Regions from separate parts of the Homo sapiens genome. Here all the other regions are linked to region 3. The links are contacts of gene promoters, found by promoter capture Hi-C in human tissues and cell types (Jung and others, 2019). All regions are on one chromosome and are shown on one strand. Each heading gives the region's core, a stretch centred on a gene start or on the middle of the fragment in contact. The rest is flanking DNA. Distances are from core to core; before and after follow the strand shown.

Region 1 (4,681 bases), core at 1,582-4,081, 70 kb after region 3:
AATAGGGGGTAGGCAGAGGACTTACTTAGAGAGATGGTGGTGAAAGTCTCAAACTGCAGATTTCTAGAACAAACAGGTTACTTGTAAGAAGCAGACAGAGATACTTAGATCAGTAAAATACTTCTGTAACACTAGAAGTGAGAAGACATGAGAACGTTATCTAGAAACTATCAAGAGGAAATGACTGCAGACCAAAAATCCTACGCATAGTAGTCAAATAAAAAATGTCAAGGGAAAAAAAAAATGTTTGGAAAGGCAAGGAATACCAACTATAGACCTCAAATGCTGAAGAATATACTTGAGGTATTCTCCCAGGTTAAAGTCAAAGCATAGCATAGTTCTAAGGACAAAAGAAGTCAATGAGCGTCGAAAACAAGTGCAGTTTGATAATCAACTTGTTCAGTATTGCAAGCCCTCACACCTACATGGACAGAGTTAATCACAGTCTGTGTTCTGCCTTTGTGTCTCTTTCCACCTCACCCCAGTCTAACCCCATCCCCATCTCCTACACGCTGCTTAGCTGTCATTTCAGTGGACTTTCAGGAAGGAGGGGAGGTAAAAGCATGGGATCAGTCTAACGTCTTGATTTGGAAAATCTGTTTTTAAAATACTGTGCTTCTTACCACAAAAGGTTGCTGTGAAGAGTTGTTGGTCAGGGCTTATACTGCAAACAACAGAAACCAGCAATGGAGGATTTAAACAAAAAAGAAATCTATGGACAGGATTCTGGGTGATTCCTAGGCTCCTGGGGAAGGCTGGAGAACCCTGCTCAGTTGGTTGGAAATTGGACAAAATTTACTTCGCAGTGACAGCACTGTATCTTCACTTAGAAATAAATTGCCTTTTTCTTCTTTTTTCAAACATAGGTTATATATTTGGGGAGAACCCCAGAAGAAGCATATAGAATATTAATCTTTGGAGAGACATCCTATATTCCTTTCAGGTAAATATAAGAATGATGTGGTAGATTCAGGTAATCAGATCCTTGCCAGAAATATCTTGATAGTTGTTTCTGAAAAAAGAAGATCTGGTAAATAGTCATTTTAGGATGAGCGCAAATAACACCACAGATCTGGGTTTTTCCACAGTGACACTGTTGACGTTTTGTCATGGAGGCTATCTTGTGCGTCGTAGCATGTTTAGTGGCCTCCGTGGCTTCTGCCCACTAGATGCTGGTAAAATCCCCACACCCACTCTAATTGTCAAAACTCAGAATGTCTTCAGACATTGCCATATATCCCTGTAAGTGACCTTGGGGGATGGAGAGCAAAATCTCCCTACGCTGAGAACTACTGCCATTGATGAAAACTAAGCTTTGGCTGGGCACAGTGGCTCATGCCTGTAATCCCAGCATATTGGAATGCCAAGGTGGAATGATTGCGTGAGCCCAGGAGTTCCAGACCAGCCTCGGCAACAAAGACAGACCCCATCTCTATAAAAAAATTTTAAAAAAAATTAGCCAGGCGTGGTTGCACATGCCTGTAGTCCCAGCTACTTGGGAGACTGAGGCTGGAGGATTGTTTGAGCCTAGGAGTTCGAGGGTGCAGTGAGTGAGCTATGGTCATACCACAGCACTCAAGCCTGGGCAATAGAGAGATAACTTGTCTCAAAAAAAAAAAAAAAAAAAGCAAACCCCAAAACCTAGGCTTTGTATCAGGTGAGAATCCTGGGTTATTGTACTCAAAACTACCACTGAGGAGTGTGGTTCCTGAGAAGTTAAGAAACGTTCCCAATAATCAGTAGTTACTTTCTGGGACCAAAATGAACCCCTTTTTTCTGGGGACACAGTCAGTAGAGACAGTCGATAAGGTTGCTAATGCAGTACCACTTCCAGAAAAACCAGTCAAGTCACTGTGTTCCAGAGGTGGTAGTTAGTGATGTCTACAGGAATGGATGACATCATCTCAAACTTAGCATGCGATTGTGTTGAAGATATTTCTAGAAGACTAGTGCTTAAATCAAGTTCTAAAAATTTTTCTGCTCGTTTATCAAAATACTTGACTTAGCTCTATAGTTTAAATACTTGTATGGTACTTAATGGGTAATAAATGTATGAAATAATTTTACTCATTGAAGACTTTGATATTTTCAAAAACTGCTTGTTCTTCCATTCACAAATTAATAATAACTATTGCTTATTAGTTCATTGTTCAAACTAATTAGTTCGTTAGTTTATCGTATTAGGATTGTTACATAAACCACAAATGCCTGATTTTGAATGTATGGCCCTAACTTTAAAAAAGGGAGTTTGTGAATCTGACTTTATTGTAGATGAGCCTTGGGATGGGTATTTCTAATTATTGGCAGAATCTCCCTTTCAAATAACTTTATAGGCCTGCCTGTGGACTTACTCCATGAAATAACAATTTGTCAGGGCAGTCTGAAGACTTCAGTAATACGCTGCATGAAAAATTGTGAAAATCTGTGATTGAGCAAATTAGAATTGGCTTGAACCCAGTATCATCCCTTTCTGCTAGCTCATGGCTCATCTTAAGTATTCTTTTATTTGAGGTGGGTAGGAAGGGAAGAGGGGGAAATAAAGATCATTTTCTAAGCTGGAAAATTCTTCTCAACCTATAACATAATAGCAACCACATTCTTCCTTTAAAAGAAATGCTTGTATTTTTGGTCTTGAGTCACAGGCACCTTGGTCATCTCTTGATGTAGTGACATTTGTTCTATAGAACTCTTCTTTATAATGGTAATCTTTTGTGATGCCACTCTTAGATTTACAGCACAAGGTCCTGAAATAGGAACATGCTCACACATTTCGCACTGTGCAATGAAGGATCCATGGAACACTGTTGATGTGAAAAAAGACGTTTTGAGTTAATTTAAATACAGGTGCCAAAAACAGAATAAGCATTGCTTACTGCCTTGCTATGTTTCAAATTATTAAAGTTTGGCACTGAGAAATGAAGTTAGTTCCTTTTGGTCCCAGGAGCATCAGTCAGTAATTCTCCAAAAGGCAAGACTTAGCTAGAAACCATTCAGCTTTGTGGAATTTGAATCTCTTCTATTGTAGATACTAGGTATTTGATTTATCTAAACAGTGTTTCTTTCTTTTTTTTTTTTTAGACGGAGTCTTGCTCTGTCGCTAAGCTGGAGTGCAGTGGTGCAATCTGGACTCACTGCAACCTCTGCCTCCCAAGTTCAAGCGATTCTTCTGCCTCAGCCTCCCGAGTAGCTAGGACTACAGGCGTGTGCCACCACGCCTGGCTAATTTTTGTATTTTTAGTAGAGAATGGGGTTTCACCATGTTGGCCAGGATGTCTTGATCTCTTGACCTCATGATCCGCCCGCCTCAGCCTCCCAAAGTGCTGGGATTTCATAAAGTGTGGCCTGTGAACTGGTGCCGATCTGTGACATTTTGTTACCAGCCTGTGTTGAGATAAATACAGAAGTTGAGAATAAGATTTTAGAAACATTTATAGTTATCGAATAGAGCAATTTTATGTCTGTAGAATCAAATAGTAGAAGAAATTTGAGCTTGTATTTTGTTTTTTTTCCCCTTTCATTTTTCTAGTAATTTATTTTATTCACAAAAATAAGATTATTGCATTACTGGATATGTAATAGTATAGTACTATTGCATTTCATATTTATCTTACAAAAGTGTCAACCTGTGATAGACTTAGTTTTTAAATTTAGTGCTTCTTCACATAGTGTTCTATAGAACTTATCAATTAGAAAGTAGTCCAATCAGAATTAATAAAGCCTGATAATATTTTGATAGAAATGACATTATATTCTTTGTATCTTGCCACTTTAAGTACATAGAATAAATATGACCAACAAAGTATTGCTAACACGACGTTGTGCAAGAATGGCATTCATTTATAGCAAATAAGTTCTTTTATGTTCTGTAGCAATGTTTTATTTAATTAGATTTAATTCAACTTAGATAGAATTCTCTCTCTCTCTTTTTTTTTTTTTTAAAGACAGATTCTTGCTCTGTCACCCAGGCTGGAGTTCAGTGGCGCAATCTTGGCTCACTGCAACCTCTGCCTCCCAGGTTCAGGGAATTCTCATGTCTCAGCCTCTAGAGCAGATGCCACCATGCCCGGCTAATTTTTGTATTTTTAGTAGAGATGGGGTTTCACTAAGTTGCCCAGGCTGGTCTCAACCCCCTGGCCTGAAGTGATCCGCCTACCTTGGCCTCCCAAAGTGCTGGGATTACAGGGGTGAGCCACTGTGCCCAGCCTTCTTTAACCACTGAGTTTTAAAGTGTGTGTGTATGTATGTGTGTGTGTATGTGTGTATATGATTTCTTATTGAGTTATATTAAATATTTCTCTGTGTCTGGTCTGCATAATTAAATAGTATAAAATATAGTTTAATTTTTTTTAAATATCATAGGATCATTGTTATGAACAGTGTGTATTTCTGTTCTCTGGTATTATCTGTTATAATACTCTTTGCTTCTTAGTTGTTTTTGTGTGTGTGGGGCTTGCCTCTGCTTCCTGTTTTCTTGAGAGGTAGTATTGTATATTTGTTAATAGCTTGACTTGACATCAGACAGATGGGAGTCTTGCTGTCAGCTCTGCTACTGACATCTCTGTGGTCCTTTACAGATTTGAGCCTTGGTCTCCTAGTCTTTAAACAGAAACAATAGGCTGGGCGCTGTGGCTCACGCCTGTAATCCTAGCACTTTGGGAGGCTGAGGTGGGCAGATCACAAG
Region 2 (4,574 bases), core at 1,842-4,341, 86 kb after region 3:
TAGGATTCATTAGGGCCAACCCTGTCTTTACTTCTCTGATAGCAGTCCATTTCTAAAGTACAACGTACATTTAACTAGCACCTTAAACTTACAGAATATAGCTAAGTTATTAACACCTTTTTTGCGCTTGTCCTTAAAACATTAAACATTTGAAACAAGTTACTTTGTCTATGTAAGCAAAACTGCTAAAAACACTAGTTGGTATTTGTTCCTTTTGTAGTGATGCCTTTGTGTGCTATTAATGAATAATATAGGCACTAAGTAACTCCCCTGTTACTACTGTAGAGATTGGAGGGTCTGGGCTGGGGGGTAGCAGGGGCACACCACAAACGTCTTCACCTCCATGAAGCTGTGTGGTGACACAGGGAACTGTTTAGGTTCCCACACACCAGTTCAGTTATTATAGTGTATTTAGAAATTTGGGGATAGTGTCATTCATTGATTCTACAATGCCCATTTTTTCCTATTTCAGCTCCTCTGAATTCAGGATGTATCTTAATTAATGGCATCAGCAATTCAGTGAAATCTAGTTGTTGCCAACAACTGATCACGGGTTTGTTATTTAAAAGTCCAGATTTCTGATTTCACTTTAAAATCAGAATATCTGGCAACAGCTGCCCTCATTCCTGCTTTGACCTTTCCTTTTCTTTTTATTTAAAGAGAGAGGGTCTCACTGTGTTGCCCTGGCTGGACTCAAATTCCTGGGCTTAAGTGATCCTTCTGCCTCAGCCTCCCAAGTAGCTAGGACTACAGGTGCATGCCACTGCACCCGGCTGTTTAGACCTTTGTATTATGGAACATGGGCTGACTGATTCCCCATGTTGATCATTAAGTCCAGTAAACTGGTTTGGGATTACCTGCTTGGTCCCTGTAGATATTCAAGAAACTCTGTTATTTTTTACTCATTTTTAGGTACACGTAGAAACACCCCAATTTCAAAGCTAATTTATCTGTTGTTTTTAATCACGAGTCCTCTCCTTCTGCACTATCAAGTGTCTTCTACTTCCTGCTTAAGTCTCTGTTGTCCATTTCATTAAGACAGAAGTTTCTATTATTGTTAAATTTGAACTGTATCTATGTTATAATAGTAATGGTAACTCAATCCAAAGGACCTAATAACAGGAAGTAACATGTCTTACATATCAGTTTATATTTGTTTTTTTGTAGGGACATACTGTGATCTTGGTATACTTGTAATTTTTTAGTTTCCTGGTCGGTTCAGTGCATTTATTTATTTATTTTTTTAATTTTTGTTTTTTGAGACAGAGTTTCGCTCTTGTTGCCCAGGCTGGAGTGCAATGGCACAATCTCGGCTCACTACAACTTCCGCCTCCTGGGTTCAAGCAATTCTCCTGCCTCAGCCTCCCGAGTAGCTGGGATTACAGGCATGCGCCACCATGCCTGGCTAATTTTGTAGTTTTTAGTAGAGGCAGGATTTCTCCATGTTGGTCAGGCTGATCACGAACAAATGAACTTTTTAAATTGGTTGCCTTATTAAATAGTTAGGAAGATAGTGGAAAGATATATCTCTGTAAGTAGGTAAGTAAGTAAATATTGGGAAGCCAGAAACCTAAGTAGATAGTTTTTCCCCCTTTATTCGTGGAGTCAAGATTGCTCATGTTGGAAGCCAGTTAGTCATTCAGGAAAACAGGGAAGTTCCCAGATTCCTTATACTGGAAAAGTTTGCTTGCTTTCTTATTAATTAGCAGCAACTATAATGAGAATTGATTCAGATAAAATAACCAAATAGTATATTTGTATGGCAGCAGTCAGCTCTGTATTCCAAGGGCTGATACCCTAGCAATGAAACACTGTTAAAAGAAGATGATTAGGAACAGGATATACGTCCATTCCCTAGATATACTTATAGCAGGGCAAATTGAGATTCCTGTCTCATGGCAATTTGTAAACAGCTTTTCCGCTAAAGCAAATGAGTTTGAAGTCCTTCAGAGACTCAGTCTTGAGTAGAGAGGTTGTGGGGAGAATACATTTAAAAACGAATTGTGCTGGTCTTCCCCTTGCAGAAAGCAGAAAATGGAGATTTAAATTGGATAATACCAGACCGATTTATTGCCTTCTGTGGACCTCATTCAAGAGCCAGACTTGAAAGTGGTATGTGAAATTATGGCATTAATCTCATTTTGTTATTGAAAATATCTATCCTATATTTTCTTTTGAAAGAGTTACACCAAGCTTGACCAAGTGTTAATTATTATTTAAGCATACTTGGTCACTTCAGTAGATCATTCTGACTGGATTTTAACTTTCTTTTCTTTTGTTTTTTACAGTTATAATCAAATTGGTATTTAATTCCCAGTCCAGATACTGTTTCCGTTCAGTTACAGGTGAAACTATTAGCCATTGTTTTCTTTATGTGTTTTATAAGATCTGGTGCATTTCTTTATGTAGGTTACCACCAACATTCTCCTGAGACTTATATTCAATATTTTAAGAATCACAATGTTACTACCATTATTCGTCTGAATAAAAGGATGTATGATGCCAAACGCTTTACGGATGCTGGCTTCGATCACCATGATCTTTTCTTTGCGGATGGCAGCACCCCTACTGATGCCATTGTCAAAGAATTCCTAGATATCTGTGAAAATGCTGAGGGTGCCATTGCAGTACATTGCAAAGGTATGTTTCTAGGGGTGGTTAAAGAATAGTATACAGTATGAGTATATGAATATGTAGAAACAGACCATATTCATTTAGTTTATGTGTCAGAACATGAAACTGCCTTTATTTTTAGAGTGCCGTGAAACCTTTGATTTCAGATGAAAAGTATAGTAACTTATTTTCATAAGTAATTCTACAAATACATCACATTGAAATGCATTTATTTATTCATCAAATATTTATTGGGTGCATCCTATATAATTCTAGGATACATCAATGAGTAGCGTAGACTGTAAGAGCCTGTCTTAATGGAAACTATATTCTTAACAAGTTGCTCTGTTTTCAGCAATTGTAACAGTGCCTGGCACTTAATAGATATTTTTTGAATAAATGAATGACTATACAATAATAAATGGTATGAAGATAGTAGGATTTATTTAACTCTCTTGTTAGTTAATTAAGAAACAAGAAATATAGTTTTGTTACAAAAATCCAATATTGGAAAAAAAGCTCAGCAAGCCTTGGGGAAAGGGGGAGACTGATCTCCAGAGTTACTGCTGTATTTGTAGTTTTAAATATAATGGCAAAACATCACATTTCAGTTTTTATTGAAAAATTACATGGCATACAAAGAAACAGGAAAGTATAGCCTATTCAAAGGGAAGAAATAAATCCAGGCCGGGCATGGTGGCTCACGCCTATAATCCCAGCACTTTGGGAGGCCATGGCGGGCGGATCGCCTGAGGTCAGGAGTTTGAGACCAGCCTGGCCAAAATAGTGAAACCCTGTCTCTACTAAAAATACAAAAAAATTAGCTGGGTGTGGTGACGGATACCTGTAATCCCAGCTACTTTGGAGGCTGAGGCACAAAAATCACTTGAACCCGGAAGGCAGAGGTTGCAATGAGCTGAGATCATGCCACTGCACTCCAGCCTGGCCAATAGACAGAACAAAAAAAAGAAGAAGAAATAAATCCACAGAAGCTATCCCTGAGAAAGATCAAATTGTGGACTTAGTAGGCAAAAAATTTTAAATAACCATCTTAAAGATACCCAAGAGTTAAAAGAATATGTGGGAAAAGTCAAGGAAACGATTTATGAAGAAATACTAATATCAGTTATAAAAAGAACACATAAAAGGGAACCAAAAGGAAATTCTGGAAATGTACTAAAACTGAGATGAAAAATTCACTGGAGGGATTCAAAAGCATATTTGAGCAGGCAGAAGAATCAGTGCGTGTGAAGCTAGAATCATTAAAGAATTAGCAAGTCTGAGGAACAGAAAGAATAAAGAGCATAACATAAATGAACAGAATTTAAGGGATCCCTGAGACACACCCAAGTAGACCAAGATACAGATCGTGGGAGTTCCAGAGGGAGAAGAGAAGTAAAGGAGCAGACAGATGATTTGGCTGAAAACTCCCCAGATTTGATATATGCAGGAATATCCAAGAAGCTCAACAAACTCCAAGCAGGATAAACTCAGAGGCCCATGTGAACATGCATTATAATCAAGCTATAATGCCACAGACAGTCTTGAAAGCAGCAAGAGAGAAGTGACCTACCACATACAGGGGATACCACTGAGATTGTCAGCAGATCTCTCATCAGAAACATTGCAGGCCAGAAGGCAGTGGGTTGATATATTCAAAATGCATAAGTGAGGGAAAACCTGTTAAGAATTCTACATCTGGCAAAACTCCTTCAAAAATAATGGAAAAATTAAGACTTTGCCCAGGCAATCAGTTTGCCTTTCTGATAAAGGCAAATACATGGACCATTATAAAAGCTAGTATTATCGTAACGAGATAATTTGTAAAATATTATTACTGTAACTTGTAAATATTGTAACTTGCAAAAAACAAATAGAAAATCTGAATAGACCCCTAACTAGTAAGGGGATTAAGTAGTCCAAAGCCTCCTGACAAAGCAAAACCTTGGATATAATAACAT
Region 3 (4,449 bases), core at 371-2,870:
AGGCTGGAGTGCAATGGCACGATCTCGGCTCACTGCAACCTCTGCCTCCTGACATTTAAACAAATTACTCTCAAAAGATCATAATGTCATGGAGGTAGTTTCTCTGTACTTCCAGGGAGCCACACGGACCACTCTCCTGTAATATCTATTCAAAACAAGACCCACTCATTTAAAATCCCTGGTAGTCTGGGAAACTGGGTGGCTTTCCAATGCTGAGCCCCTAGGCCGGTCTGAAAGGTCTCCTCCTCCTCCTCCAGGTCAAAACAAAGGACTGTGACCCTACCGTTTCTGCTCTCTAAAACTTACTTGCGCAGCGCCGCACAGCCTCCCACGTCTCTAGCTTCTTTGCTGCCCCTACAGACAGACATGTAGATCATTTTAAATTTAAGGCCTTCACTGATTTCCTTAGGGGAAACAGAGGAAGAGTGAACAGGAGAACCAACCTTAAGAAAAAGTGCTTACAGAGTTGCTGATCTCTAGCTTCAGACACAGCCCCCCTACTTCCTTATTTAGCCGTGCTTAAGGTAAAAGCCCACAACAATAGAAGTCAAAGAGCCCCTTCCTGAGGTGCTCTATGAAAATTTGCATTTCTGAGAGGCTTCCAAGGGGACTGACTCAAATTCATCTTTCTTTTCCCCAGGCTGGCAGTTAACTGCGGAACTGCAGGATAAAACGTTCAAGTGCTGGTGAAAAATAGGGACAGCTTGCAGATGTTGTAAAATTTGGGGCCGTGAAATCTTAACACTGCCCTCCAATCTTCTCACCCTTTTAGATGCTACCATGGACGTTTGTTTAAAGGCCCTCCAAAATGACAGTTTTTGGTTAAGTTCCAGGAAGATAGGGCATTATTTTAATCCAGTAGAAAAAGAAGAGGATATGACCCTACAGTGTGCCAGATAAAGAAGTTTAAGGACAAAACTTGCCCCTTGCTTCAATACTTCATGATATAATCGGACCTGTCGACACCTCAGTATACACAGCAATGAGTGTATAAACTTACTGAATTAATGTGGGCGCTGGATTCCGAGATGAGAAACTCTGAGGTGCAAACAACCACGGTATATTGTGGTTCCACGGAAGTTTCATCGGGTCCTTAAGAAGCCCTTGCTTGGCCTGTTTGAATGCTGGGCATAGGTCGATAAATAGAGCGTAGTTGTTTAAATAGTTTTACTTAAGTTCTGAAATCAACTCTACTTTAAATCTATATAGCTGCAGGTAATGTAATCAGGCCATCCTCTTCCAAGCTGGCAGCCATGGCAAAAGTCCCTTTCTCTTGGCGCGAATTACAAGGAAATTCAAGAAATACTTTAAGATATATATATGCCAAAGACCTGGAGTTAAGTTACTAGGGTGGGGCTGTGTAAATGTTTGGTGACTCACTAAAGAAAGTTGGGATCTGGGGTGCTGGCACCTGGAGGACACAGAAGAAACAAAAGTTGGGGGGCTGGCGAAGGTCGCTAGCACACTTTATCTCTGATTGGCGGAAGCCCTCAGAGTTTTCTTTATGGCGTCACCGAGTACCTGCCTGTAGAAAGGCCCCGTCTCCGTGACGTCACGCCGCATTGGCCAATGAAAGGCCTCAGTCTGCGGGCCCCGAGGAGGGTTGTGGGCCCTTTTTTGTGAATGAAGCGCCACGGAACAGCCCTCCTGGGGTCCCCACGAGCCGCGTCCTGCTGTGCCCCGGCGCCTACGCAGCAGCGGCCGCGGCCGCGGTGGGCACGCACGGTTACCCCGGGCAGCTCCGGCCGCCAGCTGCAGCCCCGTCGCCTCGGCCGCGCCAGCCGGCTGCGGGCACCTGGGGGCGGGCTGGGGGCGCCGGCCGCGGCAGGAGGCGCTGTAGCGAGGGCTGCGGCGCCGGTCCTGCGGCGGCCGCGGGAGGCAGCGGGGCAGGCGCTGTGGGCCGGGCTCCTCCTCCGGCTCCTGCGCGACCGCCTCCCGCCGGGCTCTGCCGGCGCCCGCCGTCCCCGCAGCGCCGCTCTGCGCCCGCCGCCCCGAGCGCCCGCGCGGGGCTGGCGGGAGCCTCGGCGGGCGCGCGGGCGCGCGGGGCCATGGTCGTGGCCCCCTGACGGGCCGCGGCCGCCTCCATGAAGCGGAAAAGCGAGCGGCGGTCGAGCTGGGCCGCCGCGCCCCCCTGCTCGCGGCGCTGCTCGTCGACCTCGCCGGGTGTGAAGAAGATCCGCAGCTCCACGCAGCAAGACCCGCGCCGCCGGGACCCCCAGGACGACGTGTACCTGGACATCACCGGTGAGCCGGCCAGTGGGCGCGCGGAGGGCCCCGGACGGCCGCACCCGGCGCGGGGCCCTGGCCCACCTCCCACCGGGCTGCCCGGGGCCTCCGGGGCCGGGCCGAAATGCCTTCGCCCCCACCCCCTTAAACGCCCCGGCCGCCACACCCCCTTTAGGAGCCTGGCTCCTGAGGAGCGCCCCCCGCCCCGAGTTTCTAGCTGCGTGGGCTGCGAGCTTTAACTTTAGCTTGTGCACCCTCCTCCACCAGCAAGATGGACCGAGGGTCACCTTTCTAAGTTGCGGGCGTCAGCCCGGCGCCTCGAACCTGCAGCTCCTCCCCGCGGGCTGCTTCTGAGTTCCTGTGGATTCCGCCTTCAGGGATTGCGAGCCCGGTTGGCCCTCGCGCGAGTCACAACCTCTGAATCAGCCCCTGAGGATTCCCCGAGCGCGCTGAACGCGCCTGGCACGGGAGCTGCCCCTTTTTGGCGTTGGCCAAACCCCCGCTGCTCCGTAGCCTTGGGACCCTGGGCGCCGCGTTGCCCGTCCGGCGCGTAAGCCCGAGCCCCTCTCCTGGGCCTCCCGCGCCCTGCCCCCTAGCGCGCCCCCCGAACGCCTCCGCCTCCCGGGGTCCGCTCCCCGCCGGGGCCTCGAGAAGGAAGGTGTCACGTTGGTGGCATTCGAGCCAGCCGGCAAGACGAATGTCCGGGTTGTCACTTTTGAGAAATCCCAGCCAGCCAGAGCAGGTAGCCAAGCAGCCCTTCGATAGCTGTTCTGTTAGTGCTGATTCGACTGTTCTTGGAGACTCATAAATCCAATTTGGCAGCTGTTAGGTTTGCTGGGATTGACAGTGACGCGTGTGAAGGCATTAAATGTGATGATGTATGTGGCAACGCTGTGTAAACAGCAGAGCTGTCCACGATTTTGAGGGAATTGGCAGTCTGTTTTCAGTGGCGGGGAATGTGTCAACCTCGGTGCGTGGCGTTATTAAAAACTGTTTCCAGCCCCTAGCCTTTGATAAACCAGGTAAGCTGGAGTGGCGAGAACATTAAGTGGAAGTGTTTAGACAAACACAGACGTTTAGGAGAAATAATATTCTAGGTTCATGGACAATCTGGAAACTAAGTTCGTTTTGAAATGAAGCTGAGAGCAGAGCGGGTTTCTCGGCTTTGGTGGATGGCCCTTGGGAACCAGAGCGGGCATAGGAAGGGGTTGCCCTGAGTACCAGTCCCCGGCCGGTAGCTGCGGGGGGTGTGCGGGAGGTGAAGCCTGCTGAGACTGAGAAGCCAAGTCCCGCTAACGTTGTGCCCTTCCCAGGAGAGGGCCTCGCCGAGGACGGATGGGGCTGGGAACGGGTGGGCCTATACATAGTTTCTGCCCGTTATTGTTTATACCTCTTGAAAGGATCTGTGTTGAATGGGATTTAATTTTAGGACAAGTAATGCATTTACATGGTACAGAACTCCAATTCTAAAGGTGCACAGGAGTACGTGCAGAAAAGTTGGTCTCACAGTCTCCAAGTGTCCTTCTCTAGAGGCAACTACTCTTCCCAGTTTCTTGTGAAGCCTTCTAGAAATAGGCTGTGCATGCATACTATATATACTATATATTCTCTACCATACACGTGCGAGTAGCACACATGTTGTTTTGCACATTTTTCCGTTTTCATAGTGTTTCTTATTAGAATGATTGTTCTGAGTTGGTGCATATAAGACTGGCTTACTTGATTTTAATTACTGCTTAGGCCAATGTACATACGGTTTTATGAATAAAACCATTAACAAGTACGTATGGATTTAAATGTTTATGTAGATTTGAATGTTTTTTAACCTATTTAGACAGTCCCTGTTGATGAACATTTGGGTTTTCAATCAGAAGGTTTGTGACAGCAAAGTCATTGGAATAAATCTTTCTTCTTGATGGAGATGAAATATGTGGCTAGTCTTCGTGAGGCAGTCACCAATTAATCAACTTCAGAAAAATAGAACCAAGCAGAATACTGAGGAGGGGTGCGTTACAGGAAATAAAAATGCTATCAGAGGGCAACCCGCTCTGGTCCCCTTCCACGCTGCGGAAGCTTTGTTCTTTTGCTCTTCACAATAAATCTTGCTGCTGCTAAAAAAAAAAAAAAATCCTATCAGATTGCAAGCCCTAATAACGGAAGGGTCCAGCTTTAATGTAAGGGAGCTCCAGGGGAGTAAAGGTTATAGTCACCTTTCCCTGTGAC

The links. Contacts are between HindIII fragments. The study calls those that stand out against the background at their distance.
Region 1: a contact is called between a fragment that was not itself captured here and the fragment with the promoter of CDC14B in region 3, in 3 of the 25 tissues and cell types used here (dorsolateral prefrontal cortex, neural progenitor cells and thymus).
Region 2: a fragment that was not itself captured here is called in contact with the fragment with the promoter of CDC14B in region 3 in 4 of the 25 tissues and cell types used here (IMR-90 fibroblasts, dorsolateral prefrontal cortex, hippocampus and 1 more).

Annotation. Positions count from the first base shown.
Region 1 is chr9:96,548,058-96,552,738 of GRCh38, reverse strand. CDC14B (cell division cycle 14B) reads left to right here. Exons shown (of 14, transcript NM_033331.4): 5 at 867-943. Among named protein-coding and RNA genes, the nearest start is that of CDC14B, 69 kb to the left of the region's middle. The HindIII fragment of the contact is 7,710 bases long and covers 1-4,681 here.
Region 2 is chr9:96,531,993-96,536,566 of GRCh38, reverse strand. CDC14B (cell division cycle 14B) reads left to right here. Exons shown (of 14, transcript NM_033331.4): 8 at 2,025-2,112; 9 at 2,410-2,640. Among named protein-coding and RNA genes, the nearest start is that of HABP4, 84 kb to the right of the region's middle. The HindIII fragment of the contact is 6,580 bases long and covers 1-4,574 here.
Region 3 is chr9:96,617,014-96,621,462 of GRCh38, reverse strand. CDC14B (cell division cycle 14B) reads left to right here and starts at 1,620. Exons shown (of 14, transcript NM_033331.4): 1 at 1,620-2,244. The coding sequence starts at 2,085. RefSeq lists an enhancer at 1,969-2,469. The HindIII fragment of the contact is 32,033 bases long and covers 1-4,449 here.